Linked DNA regions of Homo sapiens: regions 2, 3 and 4 are each linked to region 1. The links are contacts of gene promoters, found by promoter capture Hi-C in human tissues and cell types (Jung and others, 2019). All regions are on one chromosome and are shown on one strand. Each heading gives the region's core, a stretch centred on a gene start or on the middle of the fragment in contact. The rest is flanking DNA. Distances are from core to core; before and after follow the strand shown. Region 1 overlaps CCDC183 (coiled-coil domain containing 183). Region 2 holds the start of INPP5E (inositol polyphosphate-5-phosphatase E). Region 3 holds the start of NRARP (NOTCH regulated ankyrin repeat protein). Region 4 holds the start of PMPCA (peptidase, mitochondrial processing subunit alpha).

What was found. Contacts are between HindIII fragments. The study calls those that stand out against the background at their distance.
Region 2: the fragment with the promoter of INPP5E here is called in contact with a fragment that was not itself captured in region 1 in 2 of the 25 tissues and cell types used here (hippocampus and spleen).
Region 3: the fragment with the promoter of NRARP here is called in contact with a fragment that was not itself captured in region 1 in 2 of the 25 tissues and cell types used here (lymphoblastoid cells and spleen).
Region 4: a contact is called between the fragment with the promoter of PMPCA here and a fragment that was not itself captured in region 1, in 3 of the 25 tissues and cell types used here (hippocampus, lymphoblastoid cells and spleen).

The regions. Positions count from the first base shown.
Region 1 is chr9:136,802,238-136,805,151 of GRCh38, forward strand. CCDC183 (coiled-coil domain containing 183) reads left to right here. Exons shown (of 14, transcript NM_001039374.5): 6 at 427-549; 7 at 2,265-2,390; 8 at 2,525-2,579. CCDC183-AS1 (CCDC183 antisense RNA 1) reads right to left here. Exons shown (of 5, transcript NR_024580.1): 5 at 1,690-2,914. Among named protein-coding and RNA genes, the nearest start is that of RABL6, 4.3 kb to the right of the region's middle. The HindIII fragment of the contact is 7,702 bases long and covers 1-2,914 here.
Region 2 is chr9:136,438,568-136,441,380 of GRCh38, forward strand. INPP5E (inositol polyphosphate-5-phosphatase E) reads right to left here and starts at 1,278. Exons shown (of 10, transcript NM_019892.6): 1 at 41-1,278. The coding sequence starts at 852. SEC16A (SEC16 homolog A, endoplasmic reticulum export factor) reads right to left here. Exons shown (of 32, transcript NM_014866.2): 32 at 1,538-2,813. RefSeq lists enhancers at 1-115, 57-166, 116-750, 751-1,384 and silencers at 457-946, 1,007-1,186, 1,237-1,436. The HindIII fragment of the contact is 9,976 bases long and covers 1-1,835 here.
Region 3 is chr9:137,301,015-137,303,714 of GRCh38, forward strand. NRARP (NOTCH regulated ankyrin repeat protein) reads right to left here and starts at 1,257. Exons shown (of 1, transcript NM_001004354.3): 1 at 1-1,257. The coding sequence starts at 914. The coding sequence ends at 570. RefSeq lists silencers at 115-164, 285-344, 415-494, 1,177-1,816 and an enhancer at 556-1,474. The HindIII fragment of the contact is 30,312 bases long and covers 1-2,700 here.
Region 4 is chr9:136,409,008-136,412,010 of GRCh38, forward strand. PMPCA (peptidase, mitochondrial processing subunit alpha) reads left to right here and starts at 1,651. Exons shown (of 13, transcript NM_015160.3): 1 at 1,651-1,732; 2 at 2,990-3,003. The coding sequence starts at 1,662. It overlaps ENTR1 (endosome associated trafficking regulator 1), which reads right to left and starts at 1,607. Exons shown (of 10, transcript NM_001039707.2): 1 at 1,321-1,607; 2 at 1,083-1,232; 3 at 1-60. The coding sequence starts at 1,390. RefSeq lists enhancers at 710-869, 1,720-1,809, 1,840-1,889 and silencers at 1,230-1,279, 1,420-1,509. The HindIII fragment of the contact is 13,229 bases long and covers 1-3,003 here.

The DNA of each region.
Region 1 (2,914 bases), core at 51-2,550:
AGAGATTAAGTAACTTTCCCAATGTCACACAGCTAAACTAGCTGGTCAGAAGCTGCCTTGGCCTTGAATCCTGACTCTCTGACCCCAAGCCCATGTCTTGAGCCCCTCTGTTTCACTTCAAAGCAGAACTGTCCCCAAACCTCCCCGGGTTTCAGTCAGCCTTTTCTGCAGAGCATTTCATCACAAACTCTCTCAGTCTCTCTGGGTTGTTGGACCCTAGGTGGTGAAAGAGTCCACCAGGCCAGCACTGTCCACTCCCTGTGAAACACCTTTCATCACCGTTGTGCCCAGCGGGGAGTGGGGGAGGTGGCTGGGGCCACAGAGGAGAACCTATCACTGTTCTCAGGGCTCTTAGTCGGGGGATAAAAGCTCGGGGCAACTGCAGCCCACTCTGTAGGGGCCACAAGAGAACCCCATTCAACACAGGTGCTGGCAGGATACCCCATTGAGCTGGACAAGCTGCAGAACCTCGTGGTCAACTACTGCTCAGAGCTGTCGGATATGAAGATCATGTCCCAAGATGCCATGATGATCACGGATGAGGTCAAGGTGAGCTCAGGGCCCAGGGCTGGGGGCCCCCCAGGGCCAGCCCTCTTGGATCTTCGGATGGGGTCAAGGTGAGCTCAGGGCCCAGGGCTGGGGGCCCCCCAGGGCCAGCCCTCTTGGATCTTCGGATGGGGTCAAGGTGAGCTCAGGGCCCAGGGCCGGGGGCCCCCCAGGGCCAGCCCTCTTGGATCTTCGGATGGGGTCAAGGTGAGCTCAGGGCCCAGGGCTGGGGGCCCCCCAGGGCCAGCCCTCTTGGATCTTCGGATGGGGTCAAGGTGAGCTCAGGGCCCAGGGCCGGGGGCCCCCCAGGGCCAGCCCTCTTGGATCTTCGGATGGGGTCAAGGTGAGCTCAGGGCCCAGGGCTGGGGCCCCCCAGGGCCAGCCCTCTTGGATCTTCGGATGGGGTCAAGGTGAGCTCAGGGCCCAGGGCTGGGGGCCCCCCAGGGCCAGCCCTCTTGGATCTTCGGATGGGGTCAAGGTGAGCTCAGGGCCCAGGGCTGGGGCCCCCCAGGGCGGGCTCTCTTGTGTCTTCTGGCCAGGGTCTCTCAGGAGACCCCCATGCCCACACTGCCTACAATCCCCAGAAGGATCCAGTGGCCAGCCCGGCCAGCCTGCTCTGCTCACCCACTGGACAGAGCAGGTCCCATCCAGCACAGGAGCCATGAAGTAGAGGAGAGGGAGAGAACTGGCCGGGCCAGGGCGGGGGTCACCTATTCACCCAGTCTGTGCCAAGGTCCCTGCAAGGCTCTGGGGATACAGCAGGGACCGGGACAGGCAGACCCTGTCCTCCTGAAGTGGGTGGCACTCATCCAGTAGTCCATGAAGAAATGCCACACAGCCCCTGAGCCAGCTCAGCAGAGACAGGTGGGGTGGCAGATGGCTTTCCAGGAAGACAGTGCTTGAGCTGGGCTGAGGGATTGAACCCGCAAAGGTCAGGTGTGGCCAGGGCTAGGGAGGAGGAGGTACAACTTGGGAAAAGGCCCTGGGCTGGGAGGGGTGTGATACATGGAGCAGCGTGTGGCCAGGGCAGTGGAGGCTGCAGAGGCACAGGCCCCAGGAGTCCACGGAGGCGGCTGGGCTGGGGGCCCAAGGACTGACCTGGAGCCCTGGGAGGAGGTGGAGGAAAGATGTGACCAGGTCTGTGCTTCAGAAAGGGTGTACTCAGGCTGCAGGGACTGGAAGGTGCCAGGGCAGAAGCGCTGATCACCTGGGTATACCCGGGGTGGAGAAGGGGTGGCCAGGAGCAACGGAGCTGAGAACTCCTCAAGAGGCAACCCCACTAAGCGCTGGCAACGAGAGTGGCGAGGGTGAGAGCAGTGTCTGGGGTGCGTGAGCAGGGGTTAGCAGATGACGGTTTTAGCTGCCCAAGGGCACGCTGGAAGAGGCCAGGTTTTGGGGAAGAGGATGAATCTGTCTTCAGGCAGGCTGAATGCACTTCCGTGAGTTCTAGGTGGACCTGGCCAGGAGGCAGCTGGGGGCCAGCGGCTGGAGGGCAGCAGAGCGTCTGGGCTGGCACATGCTCTGAGGCATGGGCAAGGAGGGCCGTGAGCTGAGGGGCCACGGGCACAAGTGGTTTAGGAAAAGGGTGTGGCCATTGGCCGGGGATGCAGTTCCAAAGTCTAGTAAGGTGAGCATGGCCAACCGCCCGCTGGCTTTACTGCCATTAGGGGCCTTGTTGAGACAGCTCCCCAACCCTGTGCCCACCCGCATGTCCCCAGAGGAACATGAGGCAAAGGGAGGCGTCCTTCATCGAGGAGCGCCGGGCAAGGGAGAACCGGCTCAACCAGCAGAAGAAGCTGATCGACAAGATCCACACGAAGGAGACCAGCGAGAAGTACCGCCGGGTAAGCCCCAGGCCAGGGCCTGGCTGGCTGCCCATCCCCATGACAGCTGGGTGGACACAGGCTCAGGGCCACCACTCAGGGCCCACTCCCTGCCAAGGATGTCTCATCCCTTCCCCGCCCCCACCTCCCATCAGGGCCAGATGGACTTGGACTTCCCCTCGAACCTGATGAGCACGGAGACCCTGAAATGTAAGCGCTCAGCTCCCCACCTGCCCCCAGCCAGGGTCCCAAGGAGAGGCTGGCACTGATTCAGGCCAACGGATCAAGTCACCCTGAGGCCAGGTGTGACATGTGGTCGCCAGGGTGAAGGGAAGGACAGGTCCCTGCCTCTCCCTCCAGAGGCTGAGAGCCTGTAGCCAAATGTGGCCTCAGAGATGCTGGCCCCAGCACCCAAGGGCCCTGCACCAAGGGCCCAGTCCCCAGTGACTCTGCAGAGGATGAGCATCCTGACCCCTAAGCTGCCTCTGAGAAGCACCACCGGGCCCACAGTGCTCACAGTGCTGCGCCACTCACTCCGGGTCCAC
Region 2 (2,813 bases), core at 28-2,527, 360 kb before region 1:
GAAGGCGGCGCGGGCGCTGCACCCGCCAGGCCCTCCCTACCTGCTGCGGACGTCCTTGCTGCGGATGGGCGCCAGGAGGCTGAAGGAGGATTTGGCCGAGCGAAGGGAACAGTCGTCGCAGGCCAGGGGGCTCCGCGGCCGGCCGGGGCCCAGGCTGCTGTGGGCCCGCACCAGGAGCGGCTGCGCGCGGAGCTTGTAGTCTGCAAGATCCGAGTCGACCTTGTTTGCTGTCCTCAGGGAGTCGGAGGCGATGTCCAGGCTCAGGGCAGGCGGTGGGCGCGGGGGCAGCAGGCTGGGCAGCCTGGGCGAGCTCCCCGCCACGGCGGCGTCTCTGTGCGGGAGGTTCGGGGAGCTGCTGGCCACCCCAGAGAGAGGGTTACCCCCCGAGGACGGGCTCCCTCTCTCACTGCTCAGGACCCCGCGGGACTTGGGGATTTCCTGCAAGGAGGTGCTCAGGCAGGGCGGGGAGCAGCTGTGGGCGGGGGCCCCGGGGCCCTCGCTCTGCACTGAGCCCCTGGAGGGACTGGTCCCATTCCGGGCTTCCAGGTCCTCCTGGCTGCCTCGAAAACGCCTCCTCCTCCAGCCCTTGTCGTCCAGGGACAGGGCTCGCTCCAGTCGAGGCCTGGCGGGGGGCCGCGGGGCGATGGGTGCTGCTCGGGCTGGCGGGTCCTCGCCGCTGGGCGTGGCCGGAGTGCTGCAGGCAAGCGCGGGGCTCTCGGAGCCCGGAGCATCGGGTGGGGACCCCGCGCGCTGGGCCGGCGGAGCGCCGGGAAGCTGTCCTTGGAGCGTCCTCCCTTCCGGCGGCTGCGGGGCCGGCTCGGAGGGCCGCAGATTCTCCGCCTTGGACGGCATGGACGGTCTCTCCCGGGGCAGGCCTCGGCGCGAGGCCGCAGGCAGCGCGAGGGGTCACGGGTGCCGGGTCCGGGGTCGCCGGCGCAGCGAGGAGCAGAAACGCCGCTGCGGCTCCCGCTTGGGCCGGGGATGGTCGCGGAGGGGCGGGGGCGGCTGCCGCATGGCCCGGGCCCCGAGTCCCGCCAGCCCCTCGGGGCTCCCAGACGCCGTTCCCAGGGCGGTCCGCAGGCAAGGCCTGGGGGAACAGGCGGCTGGGCGCCTGTCGCGGGGGAGGTTCGACCCCGACGGGGACGCCGCTCGGGGAGAGGGGTGGGAAGCGGGCACCCCTGGCTGGGCTCGCAGACTCCGAAGTCGACCCGGTACTCGCGGAGGCCCGGCCGCCCAGAAGCGGAGTCAGCCCGGCCGGGACCCAGCAACCGCCGCCGCGGGGCCGCGCCCGGTCCCCGCCCCGCGCCCCGGCCCCGCCCACAGCGGCCCCTGGCGGCCGGAGGACTGCGCCGCACCGGACCCGGACGGGTCTCCCACGCCCCTCCCAACCCGGCAGCCCCGCAGTCCGGCAGGTCCCAGCGAGGCAGGTGCAGGTCCCCGGAGAGGACCTGGGTGCGGTCCAGGACAGCGCCGAGGCCTGCGGACACCTGCACTCACTCGCTTCCAGCAAACCAAAGGGAACCACAGGTGAAGGTGCTTGAAGGAGCGCAAAATATTTTATTCAACAATTTGCAATGTAACAATTCTCATTTAGGAAAAATAGCCGCTCCCGCCTGGAGGAAGCTTCTTGAATCAAAAGTCGTGGCAGTCGACCCCAGAACAGCGGGCAGAGCCGACCGGAAGAGGTCCCAGGATTCACACGAGCTGACCGAGGGACAGAGAGGGCTGCCCCGTCACAGGGACTGGCCTTTCTCCAAGTGACAAGGACAAATGGATCCAGCGGGACACGCCTGTGGAACATTTTGGAAAACATCCTGGGTGGTCTGGGCTAAATGATCAAGTGAAACAGAAAGCCAGGAAGGATCTGTGCTAATTCCACATTCTACAATTTCTACACTTAAATTTAAAACACCAAACAGTTTGTATTCCTCCAGCAGAACCTACAGAAATTATCTACTGATTTTTATTAGTATTTAAATCTTTTCTTCAGTCTCTTTAGACTTGACAAGAATACGAAGAGTTTCAGAACAGTCAGAGAAGCCTTAAAGCTTTGCATCAGTGAGAGGAGGCCCGTCTCTGAGTTGAACAGGGTTGAGTCCACCAGGAGCTACTCAAAGTCTCAGTGTGGCAAAACTCGGGGCAGAAATACTAAGTTCCAGAGCTGCTGTCAAGAAACTGTGTTAAGATACTCTCCCCAAGTGCTACCAACCTCTGAACCAACGTCCCCCAGGGGAGAAAGTGGGTCATGTGGATTGTACCACGAAAAGTGCTCACGGAAAGTGCAGCCTTTTAGAGAAGTGCATCCAGCTTCCTTAACAGTGAGTCTAACCGTGCTCCTACACACGAAATGAAGCCCAAATCAAACATCACACGGTCAGTTTTCAACCTGGATGACCACCCTGAGCCATCATGTCAGACAGCCGGCTCTCTGGGGCTCCTTCCCAGTGACTGGGCCACACGGTGGGCAGTCCCCAGCGCTTTGGGTACACAAAATCACCCATGGTCCTCATCAGGCCACAGAAAGTAAAGTGAGGCTGGAAGCGTCTTTGCAACAGGAAAGAAATTCACTGCAGTAACTAAGGCCTCTCTCAAAAACCGTGAACTAATGCCGAAGGAACCCCACGGCTCCTCGGAGGCGCTGATTGAGAACACAGCGCCCTCCACTCATTCAGCCAGGTTCAAACACGGCGAGGGCCCAGATGGTGCAGAGCAGGGGTTGGGGTCTGCCTCAGTCACCCTCTCTTTGCTCCCAGCACCTTAAAGGAAGCGCGGGACTCACTGGGCAGTGACTCACAGCTGGGCTTGGAGAGGCC
Region 3 (2,700 bases), core at 7-2,506, 500 kb after region 1:
CACACAAGATAAATAGTTTAGAACACCAGCAACAGCGAACAGCCGAGCGTCTCCTCGGCCGCGCGCCAGCGGCGCGGACCTCGGACCTCGGGGCTGCTCCTCGGCTGCAGCCGGCATCGGCGCGTCCCGGGCCTGCGGGCGGGTCCTGAAGGCGGCGGCGGAGCGCTCCGAGTCCGCCTTCGGCTCCCGCCGCCCGCCTTTCACCTTCGGGAGAAAACATTTTGCGCAGAGGATCCGGTATCTCGGGATTCCGAACTTGCTGGTTGCGAGACTCAAATTTCAAAAGGGGCTGGAGCCCGCGCCCCGCCCCCACCCGCGAGGCGGCGGGCAGGCGAGCGGGTGGGGGCCGTGGGAAGCTGCTCCGGCCCGGCCGGGCCCGGCTAGGCCGCAGGGAGGCGCTCGGCCGGCGGGGCTGCCGGACCCTGGGGCCGGGACGCACGCGCCGTATTCGCCGTGGCCACGGGCCTTCTGGCGGGGCCTGCGAGCCGGGCGCGCACCGAGGTAGTTGGCGGGAAGGTACAGCAGAGACGACGCGGGCGCAGGGCCGGGGTCCGGGGTCCCGGCGGGCATCACCGGCCGCTGGCCGCGTACTTCGCCTTGGTGATGAGATAGAGCACGATGTCCTGGTGGCCACCGAACGCGGCGATGTGCAGCGCGCTCCAGCCGTCGCGGTTGGCCAGGCGGATGTCGGCGCCGAACTTGACCAGCAGCTTCACGAGCTCCAGGTTGCCGTCGATGACCGACTGGTGCAGCGCCGTCTGGCCCTCGGGCCCGAACGAGTTCACGTTGAACTCGCAGTTGGTCATGTTCTGCAGCAGCGACTGCAGCTCCTGCGTGTTGCCCTTGCGCACAGCCTCCTGGAAGATGCGCTGCGTCTGCGGCGCGGAGCAGGTGGACAGCTCGGCCTGGCTCATGCTGCCGCCGGGCGCGGGCCGCGGGCCGGGCCGGGGCTCAGCGCGGGCGGCGGCTGCGGCGCGGGCCCCCGGCTGTCTCGGGGCGCGCCTCGGCGCATGGAGGGCGCGGCGTCCCCGGGCCCCGCACGCCGCCTCTGGGCGCTCCGGGCGCTCGGGGCCGGGGGTCGCCGCCGCGGGGACCCCGCCGCATCCAGCCGCGCCCGGGTGGGCGACGGGGGCGCGCGCTCGGCTCGCGGGGGCCGGGCCCGGCCGGGGACGGCGGCGCCGCGCGGTCCCGGTCCCTACTCGGTTCGGCTGCGGCTCCCACGCGGTCCCAAGGCGCCTCCCCACGCGCCGCAGCACTAGCTCGCCCGCCGCGCCGGGGCGCCTTTTACCTTCTTTATATTTGCATAACAATGGCAGCCCGTGACGCGCGCGCCGGCGGCCCCGGGATTGGGCCGCGCCCACATGGGGGCGGGGCGTGGGCGGTGCCGTGCGCAGGGGTCCGGGGGCGGGTCCCGGCGGCGGCGCGCTTCGCGGCAGGGGGCGCTGGTCGCCGGCAGCGCCTGGGCGGGGGAGGCCAGGTGGCCGCCGGGGGGGTCCAGCTCCGTCGCCGCCGCCGTCCGCGCGCCCCCCGGGCGCTCCGCGTCTCTTTGCGGTCGTCCCGCCCCTTCTCCCTCCGGCCACCCGGGGAATTCCAAGCTCCCTCAGCAGCCAGACCCAGGCCTTGCCCGGTACCCGAGCGCGACCGCCAGGTGGCCCCGAGGGCGGCCTCTCCCGGGCAGGGGGTTCGCGGGCATCTCAGGCCCGTGGCGAAGGAGAGACCCCTCTGAGCGGAGAGGCGCGCGGCGACCCCGGCCAGCCCGCGCCTCCGGGCTCACCGTCCACGCGGGTGGCAACTCCAGGCCCTGACGTGGGGCCTTCAGCCACGCGGGTCCTTCCCGCGCGCGGGCAGCCTCATGGCCGCCGGCTCAGCCTATGTGTGCCCCAACCGTACTGATGCGAGGGGCCTCCGGCCGGCCACCGCGGCTTCTATCGCCTGGCGGTGAAGGGGGTTCCGCTGTCCTCTCGGGAGGAAGCCCCGGGCCGGGGCGCAGCGGGAGGGTCGGGACCGCGGCCTGCCTCCCTCTGCTGCCCACGCACCAGCATGCGGGACACATAGGTCCTGCCCAGGTGAGCAGGGCTAGGTGTGGCGCCAGGGCCAGAAGGGAATTCTGAAACGCCTGGCTTCCAAACTGTAAAACCCATTTTTATTGACCACTCTAACAATTGACCGGGAGGCACTAGCAGGGGAAGCACAGCGCATTTCCTCATTAGAGTTTTACAGTTTACAACTCGCTGTGGTCGTTGGAAATTAAGGAGGAGTGATTCTCAGGCGCGGAGCAGGAGGCCAGGCAGGCTGGGGCTTGAATTCCTTCTGAAGCCAAGCCGGGAATTCCGCGCAGGCAGCTCTGAGCTCGGGCTGGGGAGACCCCCATGCCAGGCCTTGTCTGAGGAGGCTTCCGCCCACCAGCTCCATGTCCCCACATCCGGCTCCCCACAGGGGTGTGTCCCCACCCCATGCTGTGCCCATACTGGCAGGAAAAACTGGGCAGGCTCCCTTCGGGACAGACCCTGGCTGACCGGAGCAGGGTCCTGAGGCCCTGGGGTCCTCCTGGTGGGCTGGGAACCTCTGTCCCTCAAAGGCACAGCTCAGAGCTCGCTCTGGTCTTCCTGGGGCCGTGATCCCGCTGGTTCTGTTCAGCTCTCTCCTTTGGGCCTCACTGCTTCTCCCAGGAGCTCTCAAGGGGGCCACGGAGGGTGGAGG
Region 4 (3,003 bases), core at 401-2,900, 390 kb before region 1:
GTGTCCCGTGGGCTCCTGACGGGCTCTGCTTAGAACATTTCCCCTTTCCATAGCCAAAATCTGCAAAGAAACAATGTCACCCACCATGCTGGCAGGAAGTCTTTATGACCTCACATTTGGTTTTTTTCTTTTGCACATGGAGTCTCCACTGCAGTGGTTCTCACAGTCTAGAGAACTTTTTTTTTTTTTTTGAGACGGAGTCTTGCTCTGTCGCCCAAGCTGGAGTGCAGTGGTGCGATCTCGGCTCCCTGCAAGCTCCGCCTCCTGGGTTCACGCCATTCTCCTGCCTCATCCTCCCGAGTAGCTGGGACTACAGGCACCTGCCACCACGCCCGGCTAATTTTTTTGTATTTTTTGTAGAGACGGGTTTTCACCCTGTTAGCCAGGATGGTCTCAATCTCCTGACCTCATGATCCGCCTGCCTCGGCCTCCCAAAGTGCTGGGATTACAGGCGTAAGCCACTGCGCCCGGTCAGCCGAGAAAACTTTAAAAAAAACACAAGCTCCCAGACTTGTGACCCTGGAGATGGCCTGACTTGCAGACTGGCCCTGGTGTCCGTGGTCTGAAAGCGGCTCCTCAGCAGATTTTGAAGCCCAGCCGGGGCAAGCGCGTCCTCTTGTCTTGTGACAACCCCCGAATGTCCTCAGATCCTGGCATAACCACACAAACACTCCTGCACACCCCGGGCACCCAGCAGCACTTCTGCTTGGGTAGAACGAGGACGAACCAGATCTGGCCACTGCCCGGCTGTGGAGGCAGATGGAATGCTCCAGCTCGGTTTCCAATCACTGCCCACTAGGTGAAGGCACCCCGACTCCAGCCCCACGAGGAAAGCGGGCGGGCTCCTGTGCTCCCCGGGCACTAACCATCCTGTACTGGAACTGTCTGTCTTGGGGGAGGTCTCCCCGCAACCAGACTGTGAGCTCCTAGCAGGGGACTCCGCCTTTGAATTCCGAGTGCCTGGCACGCAGTGAGCGCTCTGCACATTGATGGGTCAATGGACGAGCTCGTGCTGCAGCGGAGGTGCCACACGTGGCGCGGGAACTGGAAGCGTCCCCGGGGCCGGCGCCCTCGTCTCTCACCTGTGTCTCCCACGGAAGCCAGCACCGGGCTGGGCACATAGCACATAAAGGCCGGCCGAATGCCGAAGAAGGGGGAGTCCAGGTCCCTGCCATGGGGGCGCTCACAATTTAGCTGGGGGAGACAAGACCGGCGCTCATAGAACGCTGGAGCTGGAAGCAACGACAACAGCGACTTTACTGCGTGCCGGGGCGGCCGCCGCCCACCTGGACCGCTGGACTCGGCCCCTGCCCCGCTCACCGTCGGGAATGGCGAGGCTCCGGGCTCGGGACAGCGGGGTGGCGCCCGGGCGGCGCTGGTAGCCCGACATCGCCGCCGGCCCGGCGGGGCACGACCTGCCTAGCCCGGCAGCGGCGGCTCCATGGCCCCGGCTCCGCCCGTGCCGCGGCCCGCGTCGCCCGCCCCCGTCGCCCGCCCCCGTCGCCCGCCGCTCGGCCGCCCCCGCGCCTCCGAGCCTCTCGCCGCTGCTTCCGCTCCGAGCACCGAAAGCGCGTGCCTGAACGCCTTGGGCCGTCGGCGAGGGGGAGGGGAAGCCGTGGGCGGAAGCGGAAGTGACGACTGAAGCGGGGCGGAGACGCAAGATGGCGGCTGTGGTGCTGGCGGCGACGCGGTTGCTGCGGGGCTCGGGTTCTTGGGGCTGTTCGCGGCTGAGGTGAGCCAAAGGCGAACCAGGCTTCGGCCTGGGGCGGGGGCGGCTCGAGTCTTTCTGGACGCTCCGTCTTCGGTTTCTACAGGTGACATGGCGCCCGTGGGACGGGCTCGCACTTCGGGACACTGGTGTCCCCGAGGCGACGGGGGCCCTGCCTTGCTTTGCGCCTCGAGCCCGGGGACGCAGTCCCATCTGTCTCTCCTCTCCCCGGCTGCTGGGTCCTCTCCCCCCCTCACTTCCCGGGTCGACGGGCCTTCTCCGAGGCCATGCCTCATATTTGCCCCCGCGCTTCACCTACCGCGTGCTCCTTCAGGAGGCTGAGCCGGTGGGGGCCCAGCTCTGTTAGACCCGCAGGGTTCTGACACCAGGGTCCAGGCTCTCGGTTGCTGCGGTCTGTCCGTTGATCTCTGACGTTTAAGAACCCTTTCCGTACCCACCGCTCCTCCCACCCAAGTGACCGGGCCTGCCTTTCCCCACGCTGGAACTTTGTTCCGACAGCACAGGCGTCGCCCCTCCCCACACAACGAGCGCCGTTTCAGGGGTGCGGAGGTGCTGCCTCCAGGAGATGGATACAGGCTGGAGCGTAAACAAAATATCGGCAGTCGCGTAAATGCTTTGGAGTAAACAAGCAGCCTTTCATGATAGAAAATAGCAGGAAAGACTAGACTGGTGAGGGATAGTCCTCCATCAGGGTGACATTTAAGGGAAGAGCTGAAGAATGAAAGAAGGGGTAGGCATGGGCAAAGGGCAAGCCCTGGAACGGTGAAGAAGCTTTGGGGTTGATGAGTCAAATGTGTTCCAGGAATTGACAAGAATCAGTGTGACCAGGACCTATGGGAGTGTGGGGGTTCAAGAGATGAGTTTGGAGAGGGAGACAGAGGCCAAGTCACACCCCGCCTTCGGACCAGGTTAATAAGGGATATGGCTTTTATCCAAGACTTCGGTGGTGCTGTTGGAGGGCAGAGCTGTTAAGTGCTTTATGTGTACAAACTGCACTTAGAGTGAGTTACTGTTAATAAGCCCTGTTTTTACAGAGATAGCAACTAAGACCCAAAGGACGGAACCAGCTTGCTCCAGGTCCCGTGGCTGAGCCTTTGTTGTCAGCCTCTGCTTTGTCTTCCAAAGTCTGTAGAAATAAGTCCTGTAGAAAGGCAGATGCTCACTTTTAACCCAGACAAAACATAACTAACCGCACCTAACAGGTCATCACAGGTTTGTTGTCTCAAGCCTGTTGTAACTGGGCCGCTTTCTCTGTTTTAGGTTTGGACCTCCTG